Regions from separate parts of the Homo sapiens genome. Here regions 2, 3, 4, 5, 6 and 7 are each linked to region 1. Evidence: promoter capture Hi-C in 16 types of primary human blood cells and fetal thymus (Javierre and others, 2016). All regions are on one chromosome and are shown on one strand. The core of a region is centred on a gene start or on the middle of the fragment in contact, and the rest is flanking DNA. Distances in the headings are between cores, read along the strand shown.

Region 1 (4,421 bases), core at 849-3,348:
AGGGTATGCAAATAAGAGTACACATGAATGTATGCAAATGAGAAAGAGTGGCAAAATTCACTTCTGAAGGGGGAGATCAGGAGAGTAACAGGAGGGTGCAGCCTTCTACCAGGAAGAGGAACATTTGTTTCTCAGACATAAGATGATGGAATAGAGAAAAGATAAAACATAAGATCTAGAAAGACATCATAGTCAAGTAGTAATGGCTAGGTGCACAGGCTCTGAAACCAAAATACCTAGATTTTAATGTGGAATACTCATCCTTCCTGGCTGTGACCTAGTGCAAGTTATCTAGATTCTATGTGTCTTATTTTTCTCATCTGTAAAATAATAATGATATGTTCCTCATAGGGTTGTGGTGCAAATTAAATAAATTAATATAAAGACCCTAGAAACATGCATGATACATAGTTGATGCTCAGCAAATGCTGCTAGCTAGTTATTATTACTTTAAGTTGTGGTAGAGGCAAGGCAAAATAATTCATATCTGGTGGTGGCCTTAATCTCAATAGCAGGAAATGCTGTTGTAGACCAAGGAAATTGGGGCTGAGTGCCTAGCTTGAATAGAGCGAGAGAAGTTTGAAACACCATCTGTGGACTACAGCACTGGTCCTTAACCCTAGACGTAACATTAAAATTACATGAGGACCTTTTAAAGATACTGACATTTAGGATCCCACCTAGAACAATTAAGTGAGAATGCCTGGAGTGGGCTTTAAAGTTGATCTTTAAGGGCAGCTGCGGTTGAGAATCAAGAAGTAATAGGAAACAAATAAATGAAAAGTTGTGAGTATAGAAAGAAAACAGTTATGGTTATCCAACTCTGCTTTTCTTCATTGATTTCTCTACCAATCTAGCAACTTTTGACTGGAAAGTCCAAATAGTGGGAGTAAGAGAAAGAGAAAGAAACCATACATTCTCCAGTGGTAGGAAATATGCCGCTGAGATTGGGGAAGAAGACAGAACTGAGTTTCAGGCTGAGTAAAAAAGCCCGACCCAGAATAAGATGATGGACTTTGCAAATAGGTCTAGGCAACGTATGTGGAGTGGGATAATATGAGGACATGGAGCGGTTTCTTCTGGGGGTGAGAGAGTGATCAGAAAATAGTAGGCAGAGGGGAATTTCCGAGCTGGAGATTTTGGCTCTTGGGGATAGTGTGATTTCAGTGAAAACTAGTTTTAAGATGAATTGTCAAAACTGAGGACTGAGATAAAATAAAGAAGGTTATTGGAGGAAGTAAATAAAGTGTACAGTCCTGAAAGATATAAGTAAGGGATGGAGAGGAGAGGAAGAGAATTGAAGTCATTGAGGGTAGAAGGAAAAGTGATGCCTACTGTACAATGGTTAAGAGTTACCAGCGTTGAAAACGTCCCAAACACCCTATCTTACATTAAGACAAGATAATAAATATGAAAATACTTTACAAATTGTTAATCACTCTCCAGAAAAAAAAAAGGTGATCTACAGATTATTCATTCACTAAAATACGTACTAGCCAGCTGAGAACAAAAGTTCAATCTTCTTTAAGCTTCATATGTTTAGCTTAATTTGGCGCGAAATCTGATTATTTTATCCAGTATGTCAACATAGAAAAATTTAATTTACAATTTAAACACATTATTTCTCTCTCATGCAAGTATTGAAATTAAAGTTTCTAAAATCAAAAAGGCTTCTAAAGGACACTGCTATATGGAATATTAATGTGGCATATTAACTGGAAGTGGTAATTCCTGAATGACGCCAAAGGCAATTCTCGCCTTTATACTTTCTCCCAGTCAACATACATTATTTTCTTGTTTTTCCTTTTCTATCCTTCCTTTTGCCACAAACAACAAACCAAACAAAAAAGCAAAACAAAACAAAAACCCTTCCTCCTACCAGCAGAGAGCGCTAGCGCCATGCGCGGCATAAGCGCCAAAATGCTCGGGTCTTCTGTGGGTTCTAACCGCCGAGAGCCAAGCACCCTGAGGTTGTCCCAGCTGGGGATCCGTAGTTGACTTGACGTCGCTGAGCAACGGAAGAGTGGGCAGCATTTGCTCTGAACGCTCGTGCGCGCTACCGCCCAGACGGAAGCGGAAGTGCCGGTGGAGCGCGAGTAGGAAGTGGTGAGTTCGGAGTAGAGATGGCCGCGCTTGCACCGCTGCCCCCGCTCCCCGCACAGTTCAAGAGCATACAGCATCATCTGAGGACGGCTCAGGAGCATGACAAGCGAGACCCTGTGGTGGCTTATTACTGTGAGTCTTTCCGAGTGGCCGCGCCCTTTCTTTCCCAGTTGCATTTTAGGGCCCACACACCTCCCTGAGGTTCTTGGGGCATGCCCCGCCCCCCTCGCTTTAAACCTGAGCTTTGACCTCGAGCCTACCCAGGGAACTCCCTGGGTTCCCACCCCCTGGCAGTAGGAATCCCAAAACACCATGGTGTCCACTGCTTCTCCTATCTTGTGCTTAAATGCTCCAGTACTGACTACACAGGCTCTTGAACTGTGGAATATAATCTTCCAAGGTTTTCTCTGTGTGTGTACACACAAGAGCTTCTTGTCTCAAATAGGAATCCTGAAAATAAATTGAGTTAGGTTTAAAACGAAGGTGAGTGTCCGAAAGAAGGAGTGATGTGGATAAAAGGACGATAGACTAGTTGAAAACATAGTAATAAGTGAATATTATTTATGACAGCATGCAAGCCCAATCAGAAACTCATTTGGTTAAATGGGGAGTATCTGCTACTAAATAAGCAGTTGAATTTGACCTTTCCCCACCCAGCTGCTCTCTCCTACCATGCAGAATTTTTAGTTTTGACTTCTTTGAATAATACCCGCTGTTGAGACCTTTGAAAGCAGTATTTTCACTTTGAGTGTTATACGTTGAATTTACAGTTTGATTAAAAAAAATATAGGTTAACTCTGCTCAAACTTGTAGTGAGTAAAGGGAGTGCCAGTAATTCTGTGTTAACTTTATTTTGTATTCTGTACTCTTAACTTTACTGCAAATAAAACAAGTAACTGGACAATTATAATTCTGAAAAGGATATTTAGAGTTGAGAAGTTGGATATAATGCGTCCATTGTTGTGTATATTGTAAGGTTAGCTAAAATCTGGTCACTGTTATCTCTGCCATACTCCAAATGTACCCTGTTTCTCAAATGTGCAAGGCCTTTTCAGACCTACCATCTTCCACTCTCTTGGAATGTGCACCTTTTTCTTGCACTTGGCAAACTCATGATTCAAGATCTAACCCAAATGTCACCACTTCTGTGGGCAGCAAATTGATTATTCTCTGTGCATTACTTCATTTTGTTCAAATTTTACAGCATCATTTTTATTATACTTGTTCTTCAGTTTCCTCAAGCAGGGTCCATATTCATTCAGTATGTGTTCATTGAGCTACCTTTGTATCAAGCATTAGTAGGCGCTGTGACTACATTTGCTGCATTTTTGGAGCTTACATACAATGGAGGTAGAGAGTTTCAACAATATAGAGTCTATCATACATAGAGTATTAAAAGCTTATGAAGACAAATAGAGCAAGGAAAAGGAATAAGAGTATCAGGAGTAGTGGTGGCAGGGAGTGCAGATGGGATTTCAGTTTCATAGTGGTCAGGAACACTTCACTGAATTGACATTTGGGGAAATAAAAGAGTGAAAGGCATACCTTGCACCATCTGGGAAAGAGTATTCTCCATAGAGGTTATAAAAGTCCCGAAGTAGAGGCTTGCTGGAAGGAGGAGTAAGTAGACTATTGTGACTGGAGTGGATGGGGCTTGGGAGTGATGGGATAAGGTCAAAGAATCTCTCATCCCTAAAGGAAATTCCTGTTCCCGATCCCTGTATCATGTATCTTTGTGACAAACCAGGGACACCTTACTCACTGTCGTCCTTTCCCTCTAGATTTTTCTAAACCTAATCCAGTTTCCTTTATTTAAAAATATAACATAAACTCTCACCATATCATTCCCTAAAGTTGCAGCTCTGCTTTTCCAGCCTTATAGGTAAGTTTGAAATAGTTGTCCATAAGTTAGCTTTACGCCTTTATCTTGTAGAGCCTTTCAGCCCATGCAGTCTGGTTTTCATGCCCAGTATTTCACTGAAACTGCTCTCATCAGGCTTATGAAGAAATATTTTTATTGCTCAGGTGACACTTAACAATTTTAGTTATGAAACATGTACATATAAAAGCATATGTAATGTGCAGACAGTTTAAGGAATAATAAAATGAACACTAATATGCCTATCACATTTGATGTTATTAAACTTTTTAATTTTTGACAATCTGGTGGGTGTGAAATGGTGGTGTCTCATTGGAGCGAAATCTGCAATTCTCTGAGTCTTAATGAGGTTTAGCATCTTTTCATATGTTAATTAACCATTTGTGATTCGGTTTTGAAATACTTGTTTATTGCTTTTGCCCATTTATCTGTCACAGTC
Region 2 (4,421 bases), core at 1,350-3,849, 3.8 Mb after region 1:
AGTATCTGATGAAGGATATGTTTGCAGAATATATAAAGAACTCTCACAAATTAATAGTAAGACAAACATTTAAAAAAGTCAAAAATTTTGAATAGACATTTCACCAAAGATGACCTATAAGTGTAAAATAAGCATATGAAAATATTTTCACCAGCATCAGTCATTAAAGCAATACAAATTCAACCCACAAATCACAATGAGATGCCACTATTCATATACTAAAATAGTCAAAAATTTAAAACACTGAGAGTATGGCTCAAACAGAACTGAACTCTCCAACATTTGAACACAGCACAGTCACTTTGGAAAAGTATCAGTTTCTAATAAAATTGAATATAACTTACTATGCAGCCTAGTAATCCCTCTCTTAGGTATTTATCCAAGAGAAATCAAAACATAAATCCACAAAAATTTAAACTTGAATGTTAACAGCTTTACTATTAAAAGCCCCAAACTGGAAGAAAACCCAAATGTCCATCAACTGGTGAATGGACAAATTGTGGCATAGTCACACAATGGAATACTATTCTGTGATAAAAAGAGACTTCTGTAAAATAACCTGAATGAACTGTTAAAGCATTATGCTAAACTGAAGAAAGCTAGATGTGAAAGACTATATACTATATGATTCCATTTACATGAAATTCTAGAAATGGCAAAAACCTGATTGCAGAAAGTAGATGAGTGGTTACCAGGGGCAAGGAAGTATAAAGAGGTGACTGACAGTAAAGGAGCAGGAAGGCAGGCTTTGGGGTGACATAAATGTTCAACACATGATTGCAGAGTATACATCTGTCAAAACTCATCAAATTATATACTTTAAATTGAATTTTCTTATACATAAATTATATCATAAAGTTGATTTAAAGAGCAAAAACAAAAAGATGCACGAGATTTAGAAATTTTAATATTAAGTATAACTTTATTCAATAAATCTGAAAAATCTAGATAAAATGATAAATTATAAAGTGATAAAATTTTGCTAACAAAATACAAATGAACAAAACTGGCCCAAGAAGGAAAATATGAATAGACCAATAACCATAAAAGAAACTAAAGTGACATTATTTACCTGCCTAAGGTCTATCCTCCTTCCCTGATGACTGAACCTTTATTTAGGAACAAGGTGGCCCTATGATTCAAAGGAAGTGATTTCCTTGGCACCTCCAAGGAAGTAGTTTCTAGCTACTATTGGCCAAAGCAAATCCAATAAGGTAGTTATTGGCTGCATGTGACTACTTAACTTTCAATACAGTTATGCATTGTATAATGACATTTTGGTCAATGAGGGACCAAATATTACAGTGGTTCCATAAGGGAGCTGAAAAATTCCTATGGACTAGTGACATCATAGCCATTGTAACATCATAATGCATTTATTTATTTATTTATTTATTGAGATAGAGACTCACTCTGTTGCCCAGCTGGAGTGCAGTGGCGTGATCTCTGCTCACTGCAAGCTCCACCTCCTGGGTTCATGCCATTCTCCTGCCTCAGCCTCCTGAGTAGCTGGGACTACAGGCGCCTGCCACTATGCCCAGCTAACTTTTTTTTTGTATTTTTAGTAGAGACGGGGTTTCATGTGTTAGCCAGGATGGTTTTGAACTCCTGAACTCAAGATCTGCATGCCTCAGCCTCCCAAAGTGCTGGGACTACAGGCGTGAGCCACCGCGCCTAGCCGCATTACTTTATTTTTTAATAAACTTTGTGTAGCATAAGTGTACAGTGTTTACAAAGTCTACAGAAGTGTACAGTAATGTCCCAGGCCTTCACATTCACTCCCTGACTAACCCAGAGCAACCTTCAGTGTTATAAGCTGCATTCATGCTAAGTACCCCACAAAGGTGTACTATTTTTTATCTTTTATACCATATCTTTATTGTACATTTTCTATATTTAAATATGTTTAAATATACAAATACTACGGTGTGACAACTGCCTACAGTATCCAGTACCGAATATACTGTACAGGTTTGTAGCCTAGGAGCAGCAGGCTGTACCATAGAGCCTAGGTGTGTAGTAGGCTGGCGGTACCACCTAGGTTTGTGTAAGTATACTCTTAAGATGTTCACACAACAAACTTGCCTATGATGCATTCCTCAAAACACAGCCCCATCATTAAGTGATGCATGACTATAAATAAAATTAAATGTTATAAACTCAGCTCTTCAGTCTCACTAGCCCCATGTGCTCAGTAGCGCTATGTGACTAGTGGCTACTGTACTGGACAGCACAAATATAGAGCATTCACATAATTGCAAAAAGTCTATGTATCAGACAGTGCTTGTTTAAGTCAATCATGAGAATTCTATTCCCTTAGCCCGTGCTTCACTTATGAATGTGCAGGTGATGGATTAAAATCAATCCTTGGCTATGGTCAACTACTTTTAAAGCATCTTATCCTCTCTTATCTTAGTGGAATAATATAGAAAGCTCTTAATTTCCTAAGTGTTTATGTTTGTCCAGTTTTCCTCAAAGCATAAGCTGGAATACTGAAAGTGGGTCACTCTGCAGGAACTTTAAAAAGTTATGCTATAGTAGCTTATCAGTTAACTACTGCCACAAACATGCTGTGTAACACACTACCTCAAAGCTCAATACCTTGATATAGCAATCATTTATTCTCATAGATCTGCACATTAGCTGAAGGAGGCTAATCTAGGCTAGGTTTCTGGAAAAGCAGTTTGGCTCTGCTTAATGTAGTTCCTATCCCCTCTCCTTGGATCAGCAAAGTAACTCAGGAATGTTCTTTATGGCAATGGTTGAGGTGTATTACTGCAAATCCAATCACACAAGTAGTTTTCAAAGTGCTTAAAAACCACTAAGGTGCCACAGACCAAAGCAAGACATATCCATGGACCCAATGTCAAGTGGTGAAGAAATATACTACACCTCTTTACTAGGTGAAACTGCACATGGCAAAGAGCATGGATATGGGGGGTGGAAGGGTAGAGGGAGTGTTGGAAGGGAATTGGGCCAGTTACACAATGTATCACACTAACCATAATAATATTAATAACATGGTTATTGTGGAATCATTAACTCTGAAAACCCAAAAAGCAACTGTCTAGCAGAGTCTCACATTAGCAAAGCGATGTGGCTTAAAGGTGAGAATGCAATGCTTTGAAGTCTTATATTCATTCTAATTCCAGCTTTGGCATTTACTGACTGTGTGGCATTGGAATAGTTATCCAGTCTTCTGTGCCAATTTTCTCATCTCTAAAATGGGGATGATAGCAGGATTGTGGTTAGAAATAATTTAAGTACAACAGCAGTACTAGAAATTTGGCCTGTATTCCATAAATGGTAGTTGCTACTTATCATCATCCTGAGAACACTCTAAACCAGCAGTTCCCAACCTTTTTGGTACCATAAATGGGTTTCATGGAAGACAAGTTTTCCATGGACCGGAGGAGAGGGGTGGAGTGGAGAGGGGGTTGTTTAGGGATGAAACTATTCCACCTTAGATCATCAGGCATTAGGTTTTAATAAGAAGTGCACAACCTAGATCCTGCGCATATGCAGTTCACGATAGCATTCATGCTCTTATGGTAATCTACTGACTGTTGATCTGACAGGAGGCACAGCTCAGGTGGTAATGCTCGCTTGCCCGCAACTCACCTCCTGCAATGCAGCCCGGTTCTAACAGGCCACGGACTGGCACCGGTCCATGGCCTGAGGGGTGGGGACCCCTGCTCTAAACCACATTTCACAATAACCAAACTGTAATGTCGCAGGATGGGGGACCACAGATTAGTGCTTCTCAAACTTGACTGCACATTAGAATCACCAGGGGAACTTAAAAAAATCCTGATGTCGAGCCAACTAAGTCAGAATGTCTTGGAGAAGGGCCCAGGCACTACTCCCTTTATTTTTTAGAATCCCTAAAAAATTCCAGGGTGCAGCCAAGTTCAAAAAACCTTGTTATGGATAACCAGCTGCCAACTAAAATCCACTTATTTCCACTCAAAGTATAGAGTAGTTGAGAAATGACTGCCCAGCTTGGTTTGGTCCTGTGACCAGTCCTAGCCAATGGAATGTGAGAAGTAATATGTGCCATGTTTCCCACAATAATTTTGTAACAGACATATTACCAAACCAGAAAACATTACTTCAACTATTTATTCTGTTCTCTGGTAAAACCTATCCAGTATCTTTTAAATTATGTACACCATTATAATTTGCACATTCCTTCAGATGTATTCTTTCAGCCTGATTCTTCCAATATTAGTGCCTCAAGGTACTTATCAGTGATAATGATAAACTGCAGAAAAGTCAACACCAGAATTTCTAGCAATGCTCTCCCTTTGTCCAGTTCTTAACTGAGTAAACATTCATGATCAAAAATCAACCAACCAAACAAAAAGCTCCTGGTTTTGACTGAGTCTTTACTTAAGGAAATCTCTATTCAGGGTTAACTT
Region 3 (4,421 bases), core at 1,218-3,717, 3.7 Mb before region 1:
ATGGGTGAACTATATGGTATATGAATTATATCTTAATAAATCTCTTGGAAAAAATAAAGAATACATCTAACAAAAAAAAATTTAAGGGATATTTATTCCTTTTCCAATTGTTATAATAAAACCAGGTGGAAGAGAATGGTTGTAGCAGTTAGAAAAAAAAAGAATACAAATCTGGGGTTTGGCCATTAAAAGTTATTCATAAAAATGAGAGAAGAAAAGGCAAGAAGAAGTTATTTCACATTACAGACCTCTCCCTGGCCCCAAAGCCTAACATGTGCTTACCGAGTCAAAAAAGAGACACAGTTGATTCACAAGCTGAAGGTTGGAACTTGAATAGAACCCTAGGCAGGGCAGTGCCCCCCTGCCCGGCCCAGGTGCCACTAGGCACAGCACCAGAGTAAAAACTCAACAGCGGGGAGGCCGGACCCTCGAGGTTTGGGAGTTTAAGCACCCAACTTCTGGCTCAGGGATTTGGGGAGTAGGGTAAACAAAACCTACTTGGAAAAGAATTGGGGAAGAAAACCAAAAATTGCCTTCTGCAGGGCTGGGGACAGGGAAGGAGGCAGGGCCAGGGAAAGGCACATTTCATATCACTAATCTAACTTGGGAGGCTGTGGGGGACCGTCTTCAACTGGCCTTACGAGGAAAGCCACATGGCCGATTGGAGAATCCACAGGAGGGAGAGAAGGAAAGGGAATGTAGCTGGTAGGATGCAATAGCCCCTTCCTTTCTGGGCACAGGAGGGCAGCCAGGGCACCAGGTCCAGGCAGTAACCTCACAAGAACAGCAGTTTTTGCAGCTTAGAGATCACCCACCTGGCCCACCCAGCTACTCATTCTGCTCAGCGTGGGCTGGTGTAGGGCCACTCTCCGCCCCGAGGGAGTGGACAGCTCTGTAGCTTGGGGCCCTGCCTCTTCTTCTGAGGCAGTACTGCCTCTGCGCCCTTGGCCTGGGGCTCCTGGCTCTCAGGGGTGGCAACAGCCTTCCCTTCCTGGGCAGCGCCCTTGTCGCTGCAGGCATTGATCTTCCCCCACTCCTGTTCTTCCTCCATAGGTGAGGAGGCAGAAGAGTCACCCCACCCTCCTTCCCATTTCTCTTGAAGGACAAGCTGCTCTTAGAAACCCTTCTTGAAAGATAATTATTTATTTATTTATTTATTTATTTATTTATTTATTTATTTATTTATTTTAGACAGGGTATCACTCTGTTACCCAAGCTAGAGTGCAGTGGCGCAATCTCGGCTCACTGCAGCTTCGACCTCCCCAGGCTCAAGCCGATCCTCCCACCTCAGCCTCCCGAGTAGCTGAGATCACAACCCCAGCACACTCAGCTTTTTTTTTTTTTTTTTTTTTTTTGGAAGGCAGCTATGCTCTCCACTCTACTATCAACGCTATTTTATTGTATTTTTGTAGAGACGGGTTTTCGCCATGTTGCCCAGTCTGGTCTCGAACTCCTGGGCTCAAGCGATCACCCCTGTCTTGGCCTCCCAAAATGAAGGGATTACAGGCGTGAGCCACCGTGCCTGGCCTTGAAAGGCAATTTCGTCTTCTTGGAAGTCTCCTTGCGAGGGAGGGAGCCTCCCCTTTGGCCTCAGCACCCTGGCTAGGGGGTGCTGGCTCCATGGCATTGCCAATGGTCCCGGCTGCCTCTTCTGTTCACAGGGGCCTACTCCCCTTCACCCTTGGGGGATGTCACCATTGCTTTTCACGTGGCCACCCTCCTGTCCGTTGGCTTTCGCGTGGGGAGTGCCTGCTGCCTCTGCGGCGGTCACGTCGCCCCGGAGAGCCTCGGAGCTCTGGCTGCCCACGATGGGAGTCCTCTGGGGGGCGCCGGAGCCGTGCCGGGTCCCCGCCGCAGGGGACAGTAACGCGGAGTCGGCCTGGCCGGCGGAAAGGGGGTGCTGGGGAACAGAGCCGCACCCCACTCGGCTCGGGAAAGCCCTGGTAACCAAAATTCTTGAAAAGCACTAGTGTCTGGCCTCGGCACTAACTCTCCCCGAGTCTCGTTAAGCCTGCGGGGATGACTCAGAGGGTCTGGGGTCCTGTCGGGGAAAAGTTCAGAAACCAGAACAGTTCCAGATTCTCTCCATGTGTCTGTGGTCCCACCACCTCCTCCGCAAGGGACCCTGAAAGCTGTCTGGGACCTAGGACAACTTCTTGGGATGAGTACGGCCATTCGCCCTGGCTGAGCCCCAGGAGTGCGGGCAGGGGCCGCGGGGGTCGGGTCGCCAGCCGCCACCTCCTGCCTTTCTCTGCCTGCGGTGCGCTGGGACACCCTCGAGGCGGCTCAGCGCCCGCGGTTCCCAGCGCGGGCGGGGCCGCGGCAGAGGTTCCCAAACCGGTTGCACAGAAACAGCGCCACCCCCTACTGCCCGCGGGGCCACCTGTGTGTGCCTTTCCTTCAAAAACAAAGGCGGGGCGGGGGCGGAAGTGCCTCAAAAGAAGGCGGGCCGAAGCGAGGTGCGGCTCCCTGTCGCCGCGGAGGGGCGGGGGCAGGACGCGCAACTCCGGCCGGAGCTGTCCGGGGTCGTGAGCCGGCCCCGCCTTGGTGGCGGCGCCCCCTCGCGGTCCAGAGGCAGACGCATCGGGTGGGCTCGGGTCTCCAGCCCGGCCGGGAGGAGGGACCGGGTCTGCGGAGCGGGGACTCGGGGCCTCGGCGGGGCGCGCACACGCAGGCGGGGCGGCCCGGGGTGCGGGGCCTCTGCGCGGCTGACCAGGCTCCCAGAGCGTCAGCGCCGCCCATGGCCGAGCCGCTCCAGCCAGACCCCGGGGCGGCCGAGGACGCGGCGGCCCAAGCTGTGGAGACGCCGGGCTGGAAGGCCCCGGAGGACGCCGGCCCCCAGGTAGGCGCCGACTCGGGAGCGGAGGGGCTGGGCCCGCCTTCCGGCTGATTTGCAGTGAGGCCAGCGGGTCCCATAGAGTTAAGTAAAAAGTACAGTTTTTTAAATGGTCCCAGTCCCTACCCACTATGCTACGCAAACGAGAAACCCCGGTCATTTAGCTCTACCCTCCCCGCTACCCCCAGTGCAGGTCCCATCTCAATTTCTTGTCTTTGCGGGGTGGTGGGGCGGGGAGGAACTGGTTACGTCCCAGAACGCGCGGTGGAACCCTCCGAACCGAGGGGGTGTAATAGATGCTTGTCTGAAAGTGTGAATCGAGTCCCCAGCGTGTGGGGTTGGGGCCGCTGCGGTCCCTAATCGCAAGGAGGGGAACCTCGTGGAGGGGAACCTCCCAGACCTAAGGAGCGGGGACCTCAGGCCGGACCCCGGGGCGGTGCAGCCCCTAGACAGGACGGCTCCAGGTCGACCCGAGATCATGGCACCGGTATTTTTGCATCTCACTCCTACCCTCTTAGAATTGCTTCTCGAAGTTTTCTCTGTTCCACTTTAGCCCGGAAGTTATGAGATCCGACACTATGGACCAGCCAAGTGGGTCAGCACGTCCGTGGAGTCTATGGACTGGGATTCAGCCATCCAGACGGGCTTTACGAAACTGAACAGCTACATTCAAGGCAAAAACGAGAAAGGTAAAAGCAGTTTTCCTTGTAATTATGCATATTGTGAAAGAGTCCCCGGGCTTATTATTGAGTTTTAGCTTATTAAAGAAATATCCTTTATAATGGAAAAATAAGCAAGTCATCAAAGACTTGTCTTGTTTTCAGACAAGACTCCTCAGGACCAGGGTTACACTGGGTATTACTTTTCAACCTCTGTTCTCTGATTTTGCTGGATGAACTGGGGTTTGGTGTAACTCGTGATAAGTCCTTTTCTATGGCTAACACCTCAAGATAATTTGGTGACTGGTAGGATCAGAGACGTCAGGAGGCAAGAAGGTACCAAGATTAGAAGCATCAAGTCATAGCTTTTGGTCTGGCTTTGCTGCTATTTATATTTTAGCAGGTCTCTTAGCCTGTGGGACCTCATTTTCTGAATGGTAAGAAAAAATAATTTACTGACCATGTAATCTCTAATTTCCCCTTTTATCTCTAAAAATTAAGAATTTATTAACCCAGAATATCAGTATTACAGAAAGTGGTTTAATGTGGGCAGTGAGCAATTGAGTAATTTTGGCCTTACTGTTTTAAGATGAAAATTATCTTAAAGGTAAATATGTCAACAATGTGAAGTAAATCAAGGAACCCAGATCAAAAAAGAATAGGTTAAATGTTTAAAGCTGTCAAAAATACACTAAATTTGCTTTCATTTTTATGTCACAGAGATGAAAATAAAGATGACAGCTCCAGTGACAAGCTACGTGGAGCCTGGTTCAGGTCCTTTTAGTGAGTCTACCATTACCATTTCCCTGTATATTCCCTCTGAACAGCAATTTGATCCACCCAGGCCTTTAGAGTCAGATGTCTTCATTGAAGATAGAGCCGAAATGACTGTGTTTGTACGGTAAGTGGTAGATAATTTATAGCCT
Region 4 (4,421 bases), core at 619-3,118, 3.7 Mb after region 1:
CTATAAAATAACATGAATGGATTATAGATGTCTAATGGTCTTCCCTGCTTTAAAATTTCCATCATAACCTTTATAAAGAAAAGTTTTATATGAAAAATAAAAGTCTAACCATAATATATTGACTTAATTATAATTATTGAGCCTATTCAATGTATTTTTAGTATAATCAACTTCTTTACTGGTGTGTTTCCTATTAGCAATAAAAACTTTAAAAGATTATTTAACCTTTAAAAACTAAAATAATAGTCACGGTGGCTCAAACCTGTAATCCCAGCACTTTGGGAGGCCAACATAGGAGGGTCATTTGAGGCCTGGAGTTCAAGACCAGCCTGGACAACATAGCAAGACCCTGTCTCTACAAAATAAAAACAAAAAAATTAGCCAGGCATAGTGACATGCACCTGTAGTCCCAACTACTTGGGAGGCCAAGGCAGGAGGCTCAAATGAGCCCAGGAGATTGAGGCTGCAGTAAGCCATGACTGTGCACCCCTGCATTCCAGCCTGGGTGACAGAGTGAGGCTCTGTCTCAAAAAATAATAATAATAATTGAAATAATAACATAATATCCCCCCTTTACCACCATTTTTTTTTTCTTATCCAGTCAAACTTTCAAAAGAAAAACTGAAAACCACCAAAAAAAAACGTCTAATTTCCTATATATTCTTTAACTCTCTATTCTGGCCCCATTTTTACTACCCCTATTAAAACTGCTCTGCTGAGAACCTCAATACTAAATCTGGAGGCATATTTTTCTAGACCCCATCTTCCTTGGCCATTGTATCCTGATGATGACTAATCCCTTATTTTAGGACTATTACATCCTCTTACTTTTCATGATGTCACTCCAGTCTTTCTCCTACCCTTAGTCTTCTTAACTATTACTCAATAATAATTATTTAAATATTGCATTTCTTCAGGGCTTGTGTCATTTTTTGCTTATTCTGTACATTCTCCCTGGGTGCTCTCATTTTCTCCAAAAGTTTCAATTACCATACATAAGCTGAAAATCCGTCTATACATGCTGCCCAGATTCCTCTTTCAAACTCCTCTTCACTCTCTACAATGGATTACTTATGATATATTTCTACTTGTATATGGCACAGGCAACTCAGTTCAACATTTCCAAAATTAAATTACATTGTAGTAGACAAGAATTTTCTGGATAGGAAGGTGATTCTTATCCTGTTTTCTTCACCTCAGTGCGTAAGAGATTATTAACTCTCTGACATATTTTTCCATAAAATCTATCTTGGCTCCAGGTAACTAATTAATCACTCCTCAATTGCTATTATCTTTTTCTCCAGTTGAGGTATGAGTTTTCTCAAACTAAAATAACAAAAGTGTACCTGAATCATCATCAACAGAGCTTTTCTTGATTCAGTAGAAAAGTTCCGAGTTGATATTATGGTGTTCAATGATGTCAAAGAAAAGACAAGGTATATATTCAACGCCAAACCTATATTTTTTAATTGTGTTAAAAACTACAAATTATGAGTTGAATACTTTTAAATGTTTATCTTCATGAATTTTAGACATAAGTATAGAAATATATAAATAGACATACTAAAATAGTCATATAGAAATAAAAGACTAATAACAAACATTTGTAAATTAACCAGACATTTAAAGAAAAACTTTATTAAGAATTATGACAAATCTTACTGAGTGATTAGACTGTGAAAACAGCTGTAGCTTTCTTATTTTGCAGGAACTAGACTGAGTTGATCTCACATGCTGAAGGTTACAAGCTTGACTGTTACTAAGGGAGAAACCTAAAAATACAAGCAGTTTCACCAGAAGTAACCAGTGCTCTCAGAAGTTTTAGGGACACTTTATGTTACTGTACACACCATCACATGACATCACCAGGCAAAACATATCTTAAAAACATCACTTAATTCAAAAGTGCTTAAAATAGCAACTGCTTGCAACAGGGTCTGAGTTAAAAGCAAAAACAGCAATAATTTTCAAAGGTAGAAGGAAAGTAGTCAAGCTTCAAACAAATAGTCTCTTTTACACTACCCATCCCCCTTTGAATAAGGTTTCAAAAAAGCATCCATAGCAACAAGTTCATAACATTTATTATTTTCTGAAGTAGACTTAGAAGGAAGAGAGAACAGTAATTATGTACCTATTTTATCCTTCTTTACACATCTTTATAACAACCTGGAGGAAACTGAGGTTCAGAAAGAGCAAGTGATCTGCCCAAGGTCATCTACCTAGTAAGTGGCAGAGCTAGGACTGTATGTTCTAGCTCCACGTCTGATCAACATCCATGGACAATAACAGGTATGTTTACTTATAAAAGTTTAAAAAACTTAGGCAGCACTTCTGTAACTGGTGATCCAATGTTAAGATGTTATGTGAAGAATGGAGATTACACAACTTTGCTTGTAGTTTATCCCAACACTTAATCACTCCTGTGGTCAAGAAAGTCTTTTGGTCCCTTCCAATTATAATAGCATTTTACTCTGCTTTGAATATATATGTTTTAAATTATTTGAAGAATAATTTACATAGATAATGCTCAGTATAAGTGTATGGAACATTATATTACTAAATTTAACAATTATTAAAATAGCCATACAAATGAGGAGTGAATTTCAATTCCATTTTCCTATTAACTATATTAAGAAAAAAGTTAAGAAAATATAGTAGTCAATACTCAAGAGTATTCTGGGAATAGAATCCTCAGCTTCAGAATTTAAAACTCTCCTAGATTCATCCTCTTCCTAATCAAGACCACTACTATCAAATTAAACATGCCTTTATAAAGTATTTTGCAATTGCTTGTAAATCCTGTAAAACAGGTTTAAAAACATCAATCTCTTATTTATCAGTTAACAGTGACACAGTAGGCACAGTAGAAAACAACTAACATCTCTAATAATTTATATTTGAATTTAAATTGTTGGAAAAGTTTCGCTGGACCAGAAAATATTAGTAAATCATCAAATGTTTTCAATTCTTTCAATTTTCTCTGAGAGAAGTTCTTTGCCAACTCATACTCTGTGGCTGACAAGCAATTCATTAAAATAGTTCTAAGACATGGCATTTTCCCATATAATGAAATGAGATCTTGTCATTAAAGGCATAAATATATTGCCCTCAAAAAAGCATTTTTAAAAAATTCATTAAAATACATAAGGAGGTAAGTAAATATAAAGAAGTGCAAATTAGCATGATTTTAAAATATAAGAGTCATCTAATGTATTCAAAATAACCTGCTGCCTCCAGGCTGTTCCTAATGTCTGCCTCTACCTCTAACACACAGACACAGACACACATCCCTTTTCCTCCCCACACGCCCCTGCTGCCTCAACCCTAAGTCTTGGCTTACCTGTTACTTTTCCACATACTCCAAAGACAAGGTAATGGATCCCATATTGTGTGTACTCATTACATACTGTCTTTTTCCTTGGTAATACTAGTGACAACTCTAAGTAAGTCATCATTCTGTATAATATCTATTTCCACAGGAAAGCTATAAGCTCCATGAAAGTCAGAATCATCTCAGTCTCATTCATTCTTATGTTCCCTACATTCAAAATTCTGCCTCAATTAGAGACTCATTTGTATTAAATATACGAAGAATTATAATATAAGAAAATAATGAAATGGACAAATGAGATTCTTCATTTCACAGAAAACTACATATTCCACATAAAAATACCTTACAGATCTGGCATCAATCAAACTGAATCAAAATTACTTCATTGTATTGGCCATAAAAAGTCAATGGTGCTCAAACACATGTTAAGCACATAAGTAATATGTTCCAGGCATTATATATGGAGTAGGACGAATCATCTATCAAAAAAAGCAAATCAAAGAAAGTCAGTTTCAACCTTCCACTGTTTTAAAATCTTAAATAGTAATATGAGAAACATAGGAGGAAGCATTTACCTTATATTTTTCCACTATTTTAATTCCCTCATCAACCCTGCAGATCAATTACTGGAAAAATAATGAATATAGAAGCACTGGGTTCAAAAAGAAAGGAAGGGATTAAGGTCTGCATATGCAAAGGTGCCCGATTAGGGTAGAGAGTGAGAAAAGTAAGTTTAAAATAGGAAGTGCTATCAGCCTACAGCTTAGTATTACAATTAACATGGTATTAGATAAAATATACTTAAAACAGTAATATACTGTTCCAATGTAAGGCTGATATAAAACTATAGACAGATTTGTTCAATTAATTAACCATTTCTACAAGTTAAGTCCACAAATGAAATTTCAAATTTGGCAATCAGTTATAAGCTCTTCCAGTGCAAATCTCATCCCTTGTAAAGTCCAGAGGTATTAGTGCATAGTACCTCTGGTGACTGATCTGTTTATCAGGTGCACTCAGCTTTAAAAATCATAATAAATCTATACCCTAGTTAGGCATCTTATCTTACTGTTTAAAAAGAGGTGGGGTT
Region 5 (4,421 bases), core at 782-3,281, 3.6 Mb after region 1:
GTGGTACCTTAAGAAATAGCAACATAAGCAAACTATTAACGGCATAGGGAGGACTATCAGAAAAGCTAAATAACTAGGGAAAGGGAAGATCTTTGTTTCACACCATTTCCATTTTTATTACAATTATCAGATATTATTTTAAAAAATAATTCTACAATACTATGAAAAATAGTAATACTCTGTAAAGAAAGGATAAACTGAAGAGGGTATCTTTCAATTCTGTCATGGTAAAATAACAGACCAATAAATGCTACCAGACCATAAGCCCAGTGAGGTAGAGAAGGAGAACAAGGATAATATATAAACACATTCCACTCTAATCTTCTTTACTGATTCTTTGTTTCTACATCATTACAGGCTAAATGGCCCATTTTTTTTTTCATATAAACTTCTAAAGAGACATTCATTTCATTGACTTCAACTATTGAGTCACACCCACTCCAGTCTACAACCTTGCACATTTCCTTTAAAGAAAGGAGCTGTCTCAATTCAGACACTGTTGGCGGGAGCCGACATTAGATAATCACCCTTTTAGGGCATAATTTAGCAGTCTTTAATGAAGTGTTAAAAAAAATGACTGCATTTTGACCTAATAATTTCACTTCTTTGAATCCACTCTGCAGAAACACTCCCGAATGTTCAAAGATATCTGTAAAAGGAATTTCAATTAAGCCACTACTGTTTACGACAGAGGAAAACTGAAAAGAACCTAAATGCACATTGGTAGATGCAGAATAATTTGTTGCCATTTAAAATATACATCTACATGTAAAATACATATCTACGTGTAGTGACAGTGAAAGATGTCCCTAACATATTGTTAGGCAAGAAAAGCAAAAATTCAGAATTACTATACAATTTTTGTAAAAAAAAAAAGTATATGCATATATCACATACATAAATGTGTACAAGCAGTGTGCTTAAGATGTGTGGAGGAAACACTGTAAGTTTTCACTATGTACATTTCTTTATTATTATTTTACAACCAGCATGTATTGTTTTAGTATTTTAAGAAATCAGGTCATGTCTCAATTGTCATATATCTGGGATTAAAAAAGAAAAAAAAATCCAAAAAGGGAAATATTCAACGTTTTTCCATTAGTTCATTCTCAATATCTATGAAAAAAATCTAAGTAGCACATTGCTGTCTAGGATTAGCGAAAACGCTAGTTTCGTTGGTTGGATCGTTTTGGGTTTTTTTTAGTGAATTAGAGCAGGAAAATGAGGACACAAAACCCAACCAAGGCGGAGTTGGGCTGTTGAAGCCATCAGCGGCGCGCGGCCGGGCAGCCAAGGGACCCGCGAAGGGGGGGACTCGGAGGTCGAGGGGCACTCGGAGGGCGAAGGGAGCCCCGGGCGGGAGACGAAGGGCACTGGCCCGTGACGCAGGCGCGGTTGGAAAGAAGCTGAGGACTGGATGTGCGGAAACCAGGTCAGAGGGGCAGGCAACAGAGTGGGCGGGAAGGCGGCCGGGAGCGCTATACGGGTCTAGGGAATCAGTAGGAAGCCGGAGGCGCGGCTGGCGGCGACAGCGTGGCCGGCAGAGCAGGGTCAGCCCAGGTCGCCCGGGGAGTGCGCAGGGACGCGGGCAAAAAGCCCGGGACGCGCGCCGCCGGGGCCTGCGGGGCCTGCCCGAGGCCGAGGCCCCGGTTGGGGGTGCGGGCCGGAGCTCCCGCTCTGCGCCGGGGGCAGGCGTCTGCTGGCAATACCTTCCCAGGAGAGCTCTCCTCCCGGCTCCCGCTTCAGGAACTTGTACCAGAACGTGTCCACGCGGCCCGGCTCCGCCCCGTCCTGCGCCGCCTCCTCGGCCGCCAGCTCCACCTCCCCGAGCCACAGGCCCGGCTCCTGCAGGGCCAGGGCCCCGTCGCCCGCCGCGGTGCCGGCCGGCCTCAGGCGGACGGCACCGCGCGGCTCCCAACGCCCCAGCTCGGGCCGCGACCCCACCACCAGCAGCTCCGGCCGGGCGCCGGCCACGGCGGGTGGCACCACCACCCCAAAGCGGAAGCGCATGGCGGGCGGCGGCGGCGCGAATACCCGGGCCCGGAGTCCCCGCGGCCGGCAGGCGCGGCCCGAGCACTAGGCGGCCGCAGCGATTGGGCGGTGGTGTGGGAGCCCCGGGCACCGGGGAGAACACGTGCTGTTCTGCGCCTTCTTTGGGATGCATCACGCGGCTCCCGAGCCCAGACTTCGTCCAGGCCGGCGGGAAGGGGTCAGCGGAGCCGCTAGCTGCCTCTTTGTGCCCCGCAACCCCGCGGGCGGTTGATTTCCACCTGTGGGCGCTGGGGACACGCGACCGGAAGAAATGGAAGAGAAAACGGGGTTCGGGGAGGGAGGAAAACTTCTAAGCCAGGCGATCGTCCAGTTCTCTCTCCAAGAGACTGGAAATTAACTTTATGAGGATCATAAGGAAGGGAATGACCTCTAGACAGCCGCCTTCTAATTGTGAAACGGGGGAAGATCTTGGACCTGGTCTCTGGAGCGCTCCCTATCTTAACCAAGTCACTTACTCTAGCAGGTCTCAGGTTCTTTGTCTGTAAAATGAGGGTGTAAAATAATGATCTTTCTAGACCCTACGAGCTCTGAAGGATCTCTGATTGGTGGAGATCACCCAAGACCCGGAGCTGATGCAAAACATTACCTACCATTCCCTTGTCTGAAAAGCCACATCAACTTTCTTTTTTCAAAAACTATATTTTTAGTATGTGTAAAGTAAGTTTGGAGTAAATACTTTCAAGTCCTTTTCAAGGTCAAAACAAAAACTAATTCTGTGACTACAAATGTATGCTTTTTTTTTTTTTTTTGAGACAGAGTCTCGCTCTGTCCAAATGTATGCATTTTTAATGGAGTAAATTAAAAAAAAAAACCTTTGTTTAAAATTTACTTTCAGCAAAAGTCAGCATTATTTTTTCAACTTAAAACCTTTTTGGGTTTTAAGTTGAAACAGGTTTTTTAGCTGTCTGGCCCAAATCCAAAATACGTATATCTTGGTGGGGAACTTCAATTTGTCTCTGCCATAAGACAAACGAATGTCCTGATACTTTTTGATTCTTTAACAAAATTATCCTTGTATTCTTAGGTTTATATATTCACTAACATTTAACATAACACAAATCTGTTACGTGAATTAAAGACACACAAAGGCATTTTTACCAGTGTTTGGAAGTTTGTGAATAGTAAAGGGGAACAGGCCAAAATTTCATGCGTTGAGGATATAAGTAAAACAGAAAGTGCAAAAATGTAAACTACACAAACTCAATCTCTTGTGGAACAATTAGAAAACTAATAATACATTTTACTCTTGAATGTTGATATTCCACTCGAAGTTTGGTTGGTTGCTAAGCTTAAGGATAAACACTATGAAAAATGTGAAGACAGAAGGGCTGGCCAAACACAGCTGATTCGGCAGCAAATCACACATTAAATCACAGTGGCATGTGAGTCGGTTTATTCAAATTGCTGTTAAAAGATATTCTTAGAGTAAGTTTAGGAAAATAAGAGTCATTTGGCGATGCAGAGAGGATTTTGTCTACAGTGGAATCCAGACTCCGGTGAAAGTTCTCATTCCTTCAGGACCTGGGAGCTAACAGCTCCGGACTTTCTTGTGCTCCACTGTGCTGCCTATGTTGTGTGCTTCCCAAATGGCATTATTCCCACCAGCTCTTCCAGAGTGAGTTCTGCCCATTCTGTAGAAGAAACAGTAGCGGAAAAATTAAACAATATCTTTGCTCAACGGACATTGTTTCCTTTACTCTTCTTTCATCATAAAGAGGTTGAAATAATTTTAACCATTGGAAGAAGTAACCCTCTTAAGCCCCTAAACAAAATTTGTAATAGCTTATTTTATGGCAAGGATTTAAATAAGGTATAAATTGGATAGCTGCACTGTGTAGTAAGTAAAATGCAACTGGAAAGGAGAACAAGACCAAAATAGGGCTTAAGGGACATATATCAAGGCCTTGATCATATTTTGACGGTCAGTCATTTGGATGTATAAGTATTAACCATGATAATATCCATTGAGCCTATATTATGGGCCAGGCACATGGTTTTCGTACTCATATTATCTTATTTAAGTCTCTCACCAATCCTATAAGGTAACTACAATTGTTACCCCCATTTTTAGATGTGAGGATACTTCAGCACAAAAGGGTCCAATGAACAGCCCACAGCAAGGAAGGGGCAGAGCCAGGGGCTAAAAGGGGTGCATTCAGCTTATAGATATAGATACAGATATAAATTCTGATAAGGAAAATCTGTTTCAGAATGCATATAAATTCTAGCATATTTAAATGTTATTCTCTGTCAGCTCTTAATTTAAAAAAAATAAATTCCTATCATTATTTCTTGTAACTAACTTCATCCTTAGGAATTAAAGAACAGATGAATCATGAGTGGCAGTCTAAACGGATCAATGACTCTGT
Region 6 (4,421 bases), core at 955-3,454, 3.4 Mb before region 1:
TACTTTTAACTGCAAATACAGTGTTTCACTCATATAATCAATTAATTATATACCTTTACTAGGTAACCAAAAGACCTGACTGCCACTCATAATATTGTTTCTATGGAAAATTTATTTGAGTTCAGGAATTTATTTACAAATGAAATTTTGAAGCACAGTTTACCTGGAAGACAGAATGTTTATATTAAATATCCAAATGTGTATAAATCTATATCTCATTTGATTTACCAGAAAGTCCTTTACATTTTGAAAGAGAATTTACTTCCTAAGCAATTCATCTGTTTCTGTTATCATAGCTGCTATGGATCAGGTACTCCTGGAAAATATAAATTAGAGGGTGAAGGGGCCTGGGATCTTTTCCATTGTTCACAGGGTCTGGCTTTTGCAACCAGACTCACAGGTGCTGTAAAACACTGCATGTATATAAAATAATTAGGCTTTACCATCTGCACTTGCTAGAGAGCTCAGTTTCCCGAAGATAAGTTACTCAGCTGAGGGGCTTGACTCCAAACTGGTAGAGCACAAAAAGCAATCAAGTTAGACTTACAAGAAAGCTGCCCCTGCCTGCTAATTCCTTTTTATCTCTCCAAATAAGGAAACACCATTTTTTGCCTTGCAGACTTGAAGTTCTGTTTTGTTTTATTTATTTGTTTATTTATTTAGAGATAGAGTCTCACTCTTATCACCTAGGCTGGAGTGCAATGGCACCATCATGGTGCACTACCACTTCGAACGCCTGGGCTCAAGCAATCCTCCTGCCTCAGCCTCCCAAATCGCTGTTAACTACAGGTGCACACCACTGTGTCAGGCTAAATTTTTTATTTTTGGTAGAAGTGGGGCCTCCCTTAACGTTCTGTTATTTTGGAATTAACAGTAACAACAGAATATTTGTTGGTAAGGTTGCCAGATTTAGCTAAGGAAATTACAGATCTCTCAGTTAAATCTGAATTTCAGAAAAACAAGGAAGACTTTTTTAGTGTATGCACTACATATTGCATGAGACATATGAATAAAGTATTCCTTGTTTATCTGAAACTTAGATTTGACTGGCCATTCTACTTAATCTGGTTACCCTGTTTGTTGAAAGTTAATTACTTCTTTATGAAAAAAAATAGGGTCTCACTGTGTTGCCCAGGTTGGTCTTGAACTCCTGGGCTCAAGCGATGCTTCCATCTCAGCCTCCCAAAATGCTAGGATTACAGGAATGAGCCACCGTGCTTGGCCTGGAAGTGAATTACTTCTAAACATATTACTGCTCTCTGTCTCTTTCTGTCCCTGTGTCTCTCTCTCTCCTCTCTCTCACTCTTTCTCACTCTCTCTCTCACAAACACACACACACACAGATTTTCATACTTTGAAGAAATCCATACATTTTGTAAACAAAGCACACCAATTTGTATTTACCTTCAAGGTTTAGGAAACTGGTTGAATTCAGGAACTACCAATAATTCTCATTTATATTGAAATTGGGGAATAAATCTATAATCTCATGTAATCATATTCTATCACTTACTTAGTTCTGTACAATTATAGAAATGAGCTACAGAATTGAATTTTTATTTTAAATACATTTCTGTTCTCCTTTCTCAAAAAGTAAATGGAATCTGTGGTCTCAAAACAATTTAATATGATAAAATACTGCCACCTGGAGATCAGAGGCAGGTATGACTAAGATGAACCTGATTTCCAATTCTGGAATAAGAAATGTGAGTTATGTTGACACTTGATTTAATAATGCCATTCTGCCACTTGGTATCATATGAATCTAATTTTTCCTCATTTATTCATTCATTTAATGAACATTTGTTAAGTTTCTGTTACATGCCAGACACTATACTAAGCTTTGAGAATATAAAGATGTATACGACCTACTTCCTTCGAGCGGTTTGTCATTTTCCCATTCAACTTGGACTTAGTCTAAGCTCCTGCTTCATCTGACACAGTTCAGTTTTTGGACTTCCTTATTGTTACACACATTTCATCTTCAATCTCCATGAAATCTCCCAAAGATGTGGAACACAACCCCTTTTCTTTGATTATCATAATGATTCATTCATGACAAGCTGTGAGCTTATAGAGGACTTATGTTGCTGTCTGGGAGCATGGGGGATGTGTGTGCCTGTGTGTGTGTCAGTGTGTGCATTTACAGTAACATTAACAGTTGCAAATTGAATAACAGACTTTCTCTTTTTAAAGTCTTCCTCCTTCCTACCACTTTGACAGGCCTTTCTCCCTCTGCCTCTGACCTCTTTTTTTTTTTGGCTATCTCTTAGCAATAATCCCAACCCCCAAACTCACCCCAGTGAACAATTCTTCCAACTTTATTATACAGAATAATTCAATGTTCTCAATCTCATATCCTTAAACTCAGCCTCCTGCCCACCTGTGCACATCCAACTCTCAGACAACACAATGGGTCTTCTACCTAGAGTCTCATCCCTTCTCTTGCCCCTATATTTAATATTTCCCCACTGACAGGAATTATGCCAATTTCTTAAAATTCAGAGTGGTAGCAGTTTGGGTTTTAAACAAATACTTTAAAATAGAGATATAAACGAAGTGTTATGGAAGCTTTTTCTTTGCTTCCCTTCCTCCTTCCCTCTCTTTCTTCTCCTTCTTTCCTTTCTTCTTTCTCGCCTCCCTTCCTTCCTCTTCCTCTGCTATATTGTAAGCTATCTCTACACATATTTCTTAGCAGCCTTGTGGTTCTCCATGATAATACTGCTGAATTTGGACTAAAATTCAAGAAAAAGAGAGAAAACTGAAGGAAGGGTTGTAATGCACTACTGCCAGTCTGCTTACCCATGATATCCTTTGCTGTCTGGTTAAGTCTGTAACACAAACCTTCTTCTAAAGCTGGAGTGTTCATGTGGCAAGAACCAAGAACCTGGATACAGGATACTGGGAGAACGAATCATCTTCCTATCTTGCTGATAACCATCCCCTAATCCTGTTTACTCTTGGCCTTAAAAAGGAAGTCTGAACTTGAAGTTGGATTAAAAGTAAATTTTGTAGAATCATAACCTGAAACCATCCCAAATATTACGTTTTTTTTTGTTTTGTTTTGTTTTTTAAAGAACCAATCAGTCAATGATTCCCCTAAGCTTTAGGATGGTTTCCTTCTTCAAACCACTTGGCAGAAAGGCCGGTGTAGCCAGAATTGCTCTGCTAAGAAAAAAAGAGCACTTGCCTGGGCAGTAGTGATGCCATCTGATTAGCATTATGACTGGGCCTACTTTGGTTTAAAGAGGGGTTGCTGGAATCACTTTACTTTCGGAAATAAAATCAGGAAGTTTCATTCATTCCTACCTCATTTATTGAGCACCTACTTTATGTTATGTTCTTTGCAATGTGCTTAGGATACAAAAATCAAATAAAACATATTTGCCCTCAAGGAAGTTATAGCCTAGTGATGAAGGCAGTTTATAAAAAACCATATATGTAGGAATGTTGTAAATGTCTATCCATATAACTTATTATTTTTTTTTTTTTTTTGAGATGGAGTCTTGCACTGTCACCAGGCTGGAGTGCAGTGGCACAATCTCGGCTCACTGCAACCTCCGCCTCCCATGTTCAAGCGATTCTCCTGCCTCAGCCTCCCGAGTAGCTGGGACTACAGGCATGTGCCACCACACCCAGCTAATTTTTGTATTTTTAGTAGAGACACGGTTTCACCATGTTGGCCAGGATGGTCTCCATCTCTTGACCTTGTGATCCGCCTGCCTCAGCCTCCCAAAGTGCTGGGATTACAGGCATGAGCCACCGCACCTGGCCCATATAACTTTTAAAGTCTGATTTTGCCCCTTGTTTTTCCAAAGCCATTAACAACAACAACAACAACAAAATACTTAAATTGGTAAGGGCCTCTGTGTTCATTTTTGGGCCTCTCACTAATACTTAAGATGTACAGCCTAGAGGCTGGGCACAGTGGCTCATGCCTGTAATCCCAGCACTTTGGGAGGCTGAGGCGGGGGGATCACGAGGTCAGGAGATGGAGACCTTCCTGGCCAACATGGTAAAATCCCGTCTTTACTAAAAATACAAAAATTAGCTGGGTGTGGTGGCACCTGCCTGTAATCCCAGATATTCAGAAGGCTGAGGCACGAGAATCGCTTGAACTTGGGAGGCGGAGGTTGCAGTGAGCCAAGATTCTGCCACTGCACTCCAGCCTGGTGACAGAGTGAGACTCTGTCTCAAAAAAAAAAAAGTGTACAGCCTGGAGTAGACAAGAGATGGGGTTTCCCCCAACTCCCGGTCTGGTGCACTTTCCATGACACCATACCATGCTCCTCCATAAATGGTGGCTCCCAGCTCTTCACCACGTGGTTCTTCCTTTCACTATTAACAGTTCCCAAAAGGCTTGCTCATCTACAATAGCACAGCTCTGAAGGCCTTCAGTGCTGGATAGTTCAGATCCAGTC
Region 7 (4,421 bases), core at 1,414-3,913, 3.2 Mb before region 1:
TTAAAACAAACAAACAAACAAACAAAATGACTGAAACTAGCACAAGAAACTCAAGAAGACAGAAATTTTAAAAGTAAATAAATAGGACACTACAGAAACACATTGACTGTGACTTCTTTCACAAACAGTATCTTTTTCAACTGTGTATAGGTAAGTGATTATGGCAAGATTATTTCTGTAGTTTATTACAATTATTTTAGTGATTCAGAACTAAAAACCACTACTCCAGAATAACAAACCTGAGACTTATTAAGTTTATAACTTTCAACACAGAAATGAGCTCTGCTTTCCTATTTTTAAACTTATCACTAATGCCAGATCTTGTAATTGATTTAAACAAGTTTCAAGACAAAAACAAAATGGTTTGTTTCACTGTTATTGCTTTTCCCCATTAAATTTATGTGTTATGCAAATATTCTAACAAGATATTGCTCTACACAAATGATCTAAAGATTTTCAGCTTCATTAACAGGGTACATTGCTTACAAACCTCAATGAAAGAACAGTTAGTACTAGAACCCTTTATCAATCTATTATGCATTCAAAGTCTGTATGAAGTTTTAAGACATTTCCCAAAACAGAAGCTTTTGGTAAAAGCTAAGAAAACATTCTGATTAGTGTGGTAAATAGTATATCTTTCCTAATCTTTAAAAAACAAAATAAACTACTTTGGGAAAAGCTGACTTTTAAGCCACAACACTGAATATTTTCTTGCTCGGCAGACAGCAAAATTCCTCATGATTAAATCCTATGAGCCAGATTTTTCTCCCCCTCATCTTGCTATTATGTGGCATGGAGCATAATTTTACAAAGCATGCACTCCTTCACTTTGTCTATTGACATTCTGTCTTCAAAAACAAACTCTTAAACTCAGAATAGATTTTCCTCTGCTATTCAAAAGCAACTGTAATGAACACACCTTAAAACATCTGACAGTGGTAATAAAGAAAAATTGTATTTGTGTGTGCCCTGAACACCAACTACAAGAATCTCCCTCTTTCTCTGAAGTGGCTGTGTTTCAAGACATCATCATACATTAAACTACTTACTACGCAAAGGAGTAAGTTGATACGTAACACAAAATCAGATATTCTAAAATCCCTACTGTTCATAAGAACTATGGGGAAGTCAAAATCAGACCAACTGAATTTTATTCCTCACCCTGCTCCCAAACCACATGACCAGAGAAGGTAAGAGCTGGGACGTGAATAATAGTAAGGGAGAGATACGAATATTCACAAATAAATTATTTAACTTATCTGCTATCAAGTTCTTAGTGAACAAGAATAAGCCTGTAATCCCAGCACTCTGGGAGGCTGAAGTGGGCAGATCACAAGGTCAGGAGTTCAAGACCAGCCTGGCCAATATGGTGAAACCCCGACTCTACTAAAAATACAAAAATTAGCCGAGTGTGGTGGTGGCGCATGCCTGTAGTCCCAGCTACCCAGGAGGCTGAGGCAGAAGAATCGCTTGAGCCTGGGAGGTGGAGGTTGCAGTGAGCCGAGATTGCACCACTGCACTCCAGCCTGGGCAACAGAGCGAGAGACTGTCTCAAAAAATAAAAATAAAAATAAAAATAAACAAGAATAACACCCACTTCACAAGGTTGTTGCAAGAATCAAATGAGTTCTTCCATGAAAATGATTTGCCTGGTTAAAGGAACATAATAGGCACTCGATAAATGCCAGCTCCTTCCTCGTTTGGTTCTGGACTCGGTGTTATTTGTTCTCTACACTCATGCCCCCAGATGACTCAGTCTCCTCCTAACTTTTACTAACAAACACCGAAAACTACTGTACCAACCAAGGTCCTGATATGTATGTGCATGCCCAGTCTATGTGACACTGTCTCCCGTCCCTAAACACTTAGGTGAGCAAAACAGAGGAAGAAATCCCGAACCTCTGAACCTGAACTGCTGTAAGAACCAGCAGTTGGGGTGGACAAATCTCCACCCACTTCCCACTGTCTCCAAGAGATCTGAATTGCCATCTAAGAATGTCTGAAACCAAACTCATCATTGTCTCTTTTAAAAAGTAAGCCCTCTTCCTGCCCCTTTTCTAACTGTGAGTGGTGTCCAAAGAATAATCCTTGCCCCACTGTATTCTCACCAAAACACTGCCAAATAACCCAGGCCTATCACGTTTACCTTCATAATCTCTACCATCTCTCTCTCTCTCTTTTTTTTTTTTTTTTTTTGAGACAGCGTCTTGCTCTGTCATCTAGGCTGGAGTGCAGTGGCGCGATCTTGGCTCACTGCAACCTCCTCCTCCTCCCAGGTTCTAAGTGATTCTCCTGCCTCAGCCTCTGGAGTAGCTGGGATTACAGGCATGCGCCACCACATGCGGCTAATTTTGTATTTTTAGTACAGAAAGGGTTTCACCATGTTGGCCAGGTTGGTCTCCAACTCCTGACCTCAGGTGATCCACCTGCCTCAGCCTCCCAAAGTGCTGGGATTACAGGCATGAGCCACTGTGCCCGGCCCATATCTGATTTTTTGTCCCACTCCCACCACTATAGTCCAGGTTAGGGTTTCTCAGTCTCAGCACTATTGACATCTTGGGCACATAATGCTTGTGGAGGCTGTCCTGTGCACTGCAGGATGTTTAGCAACATTTCTGGCCTCTACCCACTAGATGCCAGTAGAACTGCTCTCTCCCCTCTAGTTATGACAATCAAAATGTCTCTAGACACTGCCAAATGCCTCTTCCCCATTGTCACCTTCATTCCCATGTTTGAGTACCACTGGCCCAGTTTCTCACTTCGTATCTGCCATACAAAATCAGCCCCCAAGTTAAGTCTACAGTTTTATTCCTCTAATTCCTGTGGCCCTGACAAACGACTCCTAAAGCACTGCTTTATGAGTCATTTCTCTTAAATCTACCACTCCCTGTTACCTACACAATTAGTTCAAAGCTCTCCATCCAACCTTGATAATCTGGCCTCAATTAAACATTATTCCACAAAGCACCTCATATAGTGGCTACCCAGCAGTCCTTCAATAACATATCCAGTCTCTCCCTTTCTATTCTACTGCTGTCACCCTGGTTGGATGTCCATGACCTAGCACCCAATCCAGACCACTGAAAGAGTGTCATTCCTTACCCTTTCTGCCACTCAAAGTCAAAAACTTTTCAATGGGTCTCCATTGCTTGCTGAAATATCGTTATCTGCTGCCCTTCTTCAGAGTCTTTCCCAATATGGCCTCTTTCTAATTTTATATTCTGTTATCCCGAAAACACTAGTCCTTGAAAAGGCTCCTACACTTTCCACTTCTGATCACTTTTCTCTGCCTGGAAGCCCTCATAATTCCATTCCCCTCACTCCACCCTAATTTAAAGTCCATCTGAATTAAGTCAAAAAGCCTTTCTTGGTCATACCTCCTTAGCATTTCATAACACTTGGCACCTCTCCTATGGCATACATTATACCTTATGTTATACATGAGCACTCCTATAATTGACAAGATCCTCAAGAGCTTCTTACTCCTCTTCTGATGCCTGCAATGCCTAGCCCAGTGTTAAGTAGAGAACTAAGCATTAGATATGAGCTGCCCCAAATGTTTCCCACTTAGAAAGCAATGGAGGACTGTGTTTTCAGACAATCCCAAACTCCCTTAAGGGAATTAAGCACATATTCTCCTTTTGTCTCATATTTCTATGTCTTAGACCAATTTTTAAGTAAATTGCCTTCAAGATATCTAGACTGCTATTTAGTATACATAACTGTAAGAGTTCTGCTCCAGGGAGTTCCAACTTGTAACTGAACCCTGAATATTTAAGCTCTCTCTTTATGCCAAAAGACAATGGAAATTTATTTTTTGAATGTTAATAAAATTGAGCAAAACATAAAAATAACTTGCACTGAATTAAACATGTTTGAAGTAAAGATTCATTAATGCTAATGTGTCTGTCCTAAAAATTACATTTCAAGTTCTAAAGTCTTTGTGTACCCATTAAAAAGATTGAAAGTTTTATTTCAACTCTTTCTCACCTCAAAGACAAACTAAAATAGAACAGAGAAGGCTTTTCCTTAATTTTATTTAGATCCTAACTTGAAGGTATACTTTGTTATTTCTTCAAAAGGAGCAAAAAGAGTATGATTAATGAGCATGTTCTGACCAGATCTCTAAGTCCTACTCCAAAGCTGTAACAGGAGAGTACCATAGACCACACTACCAGCACCCTTCGTTAGCAGACCACAGGCTTTGTTTTGTATCTCCCTGAGCTAAGAATGGCTTTACATTTTTGTGTTTTGTAAACACAAGAAGAAGAATATGCAACAGAGAGCATATGTGGCCAGCAAAGCCCAAAATATTTACTATTTGTCCCTTTTCAACAGGATGAATTTGGGACTCCTCGTTGCCCTTCACTGGCACGTAAGACATCCCACCTTTAAAAAAGCAATGTAAAACACAAGACCAT

What was found. The method cuts DNA at HindIII sites, captures the fragments that hold promoters and counts their contacts. A CHiCAGO score of 5 or more calls a contact.
Region 2: a contact is called between a fragment that was not itself captured here and the fragment with the promoter of VTA1 in region 1, in 2 of 17 cell types (naive B cells and total B cells). The highest score is 8.8, in naive B cells.
Region 3: the fragment with the promoter of HEBP2 here is called in contact with the fragment with the promoter of VTA1 in region 1 in 1 of 17 cell types (non-activated CD4 T cells); the score reaches 5.6 in non-activated CD4 T cells.
Region 4: a contact is called between a fragment that was not itself captured here and the fragment with the promoter of VTA1 in region 1, in 1 of 17 cell types (total B cells). The highest score is 5.3, in total B cells.
Region 5: a contact is called between the fragment with the promoter of EPM2A here and the fragment with the promoter of VTA1 in region 1, in 3 of 17 cell types (total B cells, non-activated CD4 T cells and total CD8 T cells). The highest score is 14.8, in total B cells.
Region 6: a fragment that was not itself captured here is called in contact with the fragment with the promoter of VTA1 in region 1 in 4 of 17 cell types (non-activated CD4 T cells, total CD8 T cells, fetal thymus and 1 more); the score reaches 10.9 in non-activated CD4 T cells.
Region 7: a fragment that was not itself captured here is called in contact with the fragment with the promoter of VTA1 in region 1 in 1 of 17 cell types (total B cells); the score reaches 13.0 in total B cells.

What each region holds. Positions count from the first base shown.
Region 1 is chr6:142,145,165-142,149,585 of GRCh38, forward strand. It overlaps VTA1 (vesicle trafficking 1), which reads left to right and starts at 2,099. Exons shown (of 8, transcript NM_016485.5): 1 at 2,099-2,235. The coding sequence starts at 2,124. It overlaps NMBR (neuromedin B receptor), which reads right to left and starts at 1,958. Exons shown (of 4, transcript NM_002511.4): 1 at 1,880-1,958. RefSeq lists enhancers at 1,828-2,122, 1,886-2,025, 2,280-2,800. The HindIII fragment of the contact is 1,973 bases long and covers 1,528-3,500 here.
Region 2 is chr6:145,957,455-145,961,875 of GRCh38, forward strand. The region is part of intron 1 of SHPRH (SNF2 histone linker PHD RING helicase); the gene reads right to left. Among named protein-coding and RNA genes, the nearest start is that of SHPRH, 4.7 kb to the right of the region's middle. The HindIII fragment of the contact is 5,758 bases long and covers 1-4,421 here.
Region 3 is chr6:138,401,756-138,406,176 of GRCh38, forward strand. It overlaps HEBP2 (heme binding protein 2), which reads left to right and starts at 2,468. Exons shown (of 4, transcript NM_014320.3): 1 at 2,468-2,842; 2 at 3,390-3,525; 3 at 4,216-4,396. The coding sequence starts at 2,741. It also overlaps the pseudogene MARCKSL1P2. RefSeq lists enhancers at 1,162-1,682, 2,204-2,724 and silencers at 1,884-1,953, 2,084-2,933. The HindIII fragment of the contact is 19,528 bases long and covers 1-4,421 here.
Region 4 is chr6:145,807,606-145,812,026 of GRCh38, forward strand. All of the region lies in intron 1 of FBXO30 (F-box protein 30), which reads right to left. The region is part of intron 1 of EPM2A-DT (EPM2A divergent transcript); the gene reads left to right. Among named protein-coding and RNA genes, the nearest start is that of FBXO30, 5.0 kb to the right of the region's middle. The HindIII fragment of the contact is 245 bases long and covers 1,747-1,991 here.
Region 5 is chr6:145,733,489-145,737,909 of GRCh38, forward strand. It overlaps EPM2A (EPM2A glucan phosphatase, laforin), which reads right to left and starts at 2,032. Exons shown (of 4, transcript NM_005670.4): 1 at 1,710-2,032. The coding sequence starts at 2,010. EPM2A-DT (EPM2A divergent transcript) reads left to right here and starts at 1,381. Exons shown (of 3, transcript NR_038246.1): 1 at 1,381-1,432. RefSeq lists a silencer at 1,507-2,096 and enhancers at 2,257-2,316, 2,327-2,376, 2,397-2,446. The HindIII fragment of the contact is 8,125 bases long and covers 1-3,338 here.
Region 6 is chr6:138,764,452-138,768,872 of GRCh38, forward strand. All of the region lies in intron 1 of CCDC28A-AS1 (CCDC28A antisense RNA 1), which reads right to left. Among named protein-coding and RNA genes, the nearest start is that of CCDC28A-AS1, 7.0 kb to the right of the region's middle. RefSeq lists an enhancer at 4,235-4,294. The HindIII fragment of the contact is 730 bases long and covers 1,840-2,569 here.
Region 7 is chr6:138,981,902-138,986,322 of GRCh38, forward strand. The region is part of intron 1 of REPS1 (RALBP1 associated Eps domain containing 1); the gene reads right to left. Among named protein-coding and RNA genes, the nearest start is that of REPS1, 4.1 kb to the right of the region's middle. The HindIII fragment of the contact is 4,162 bases long and covers 583-4,421 here.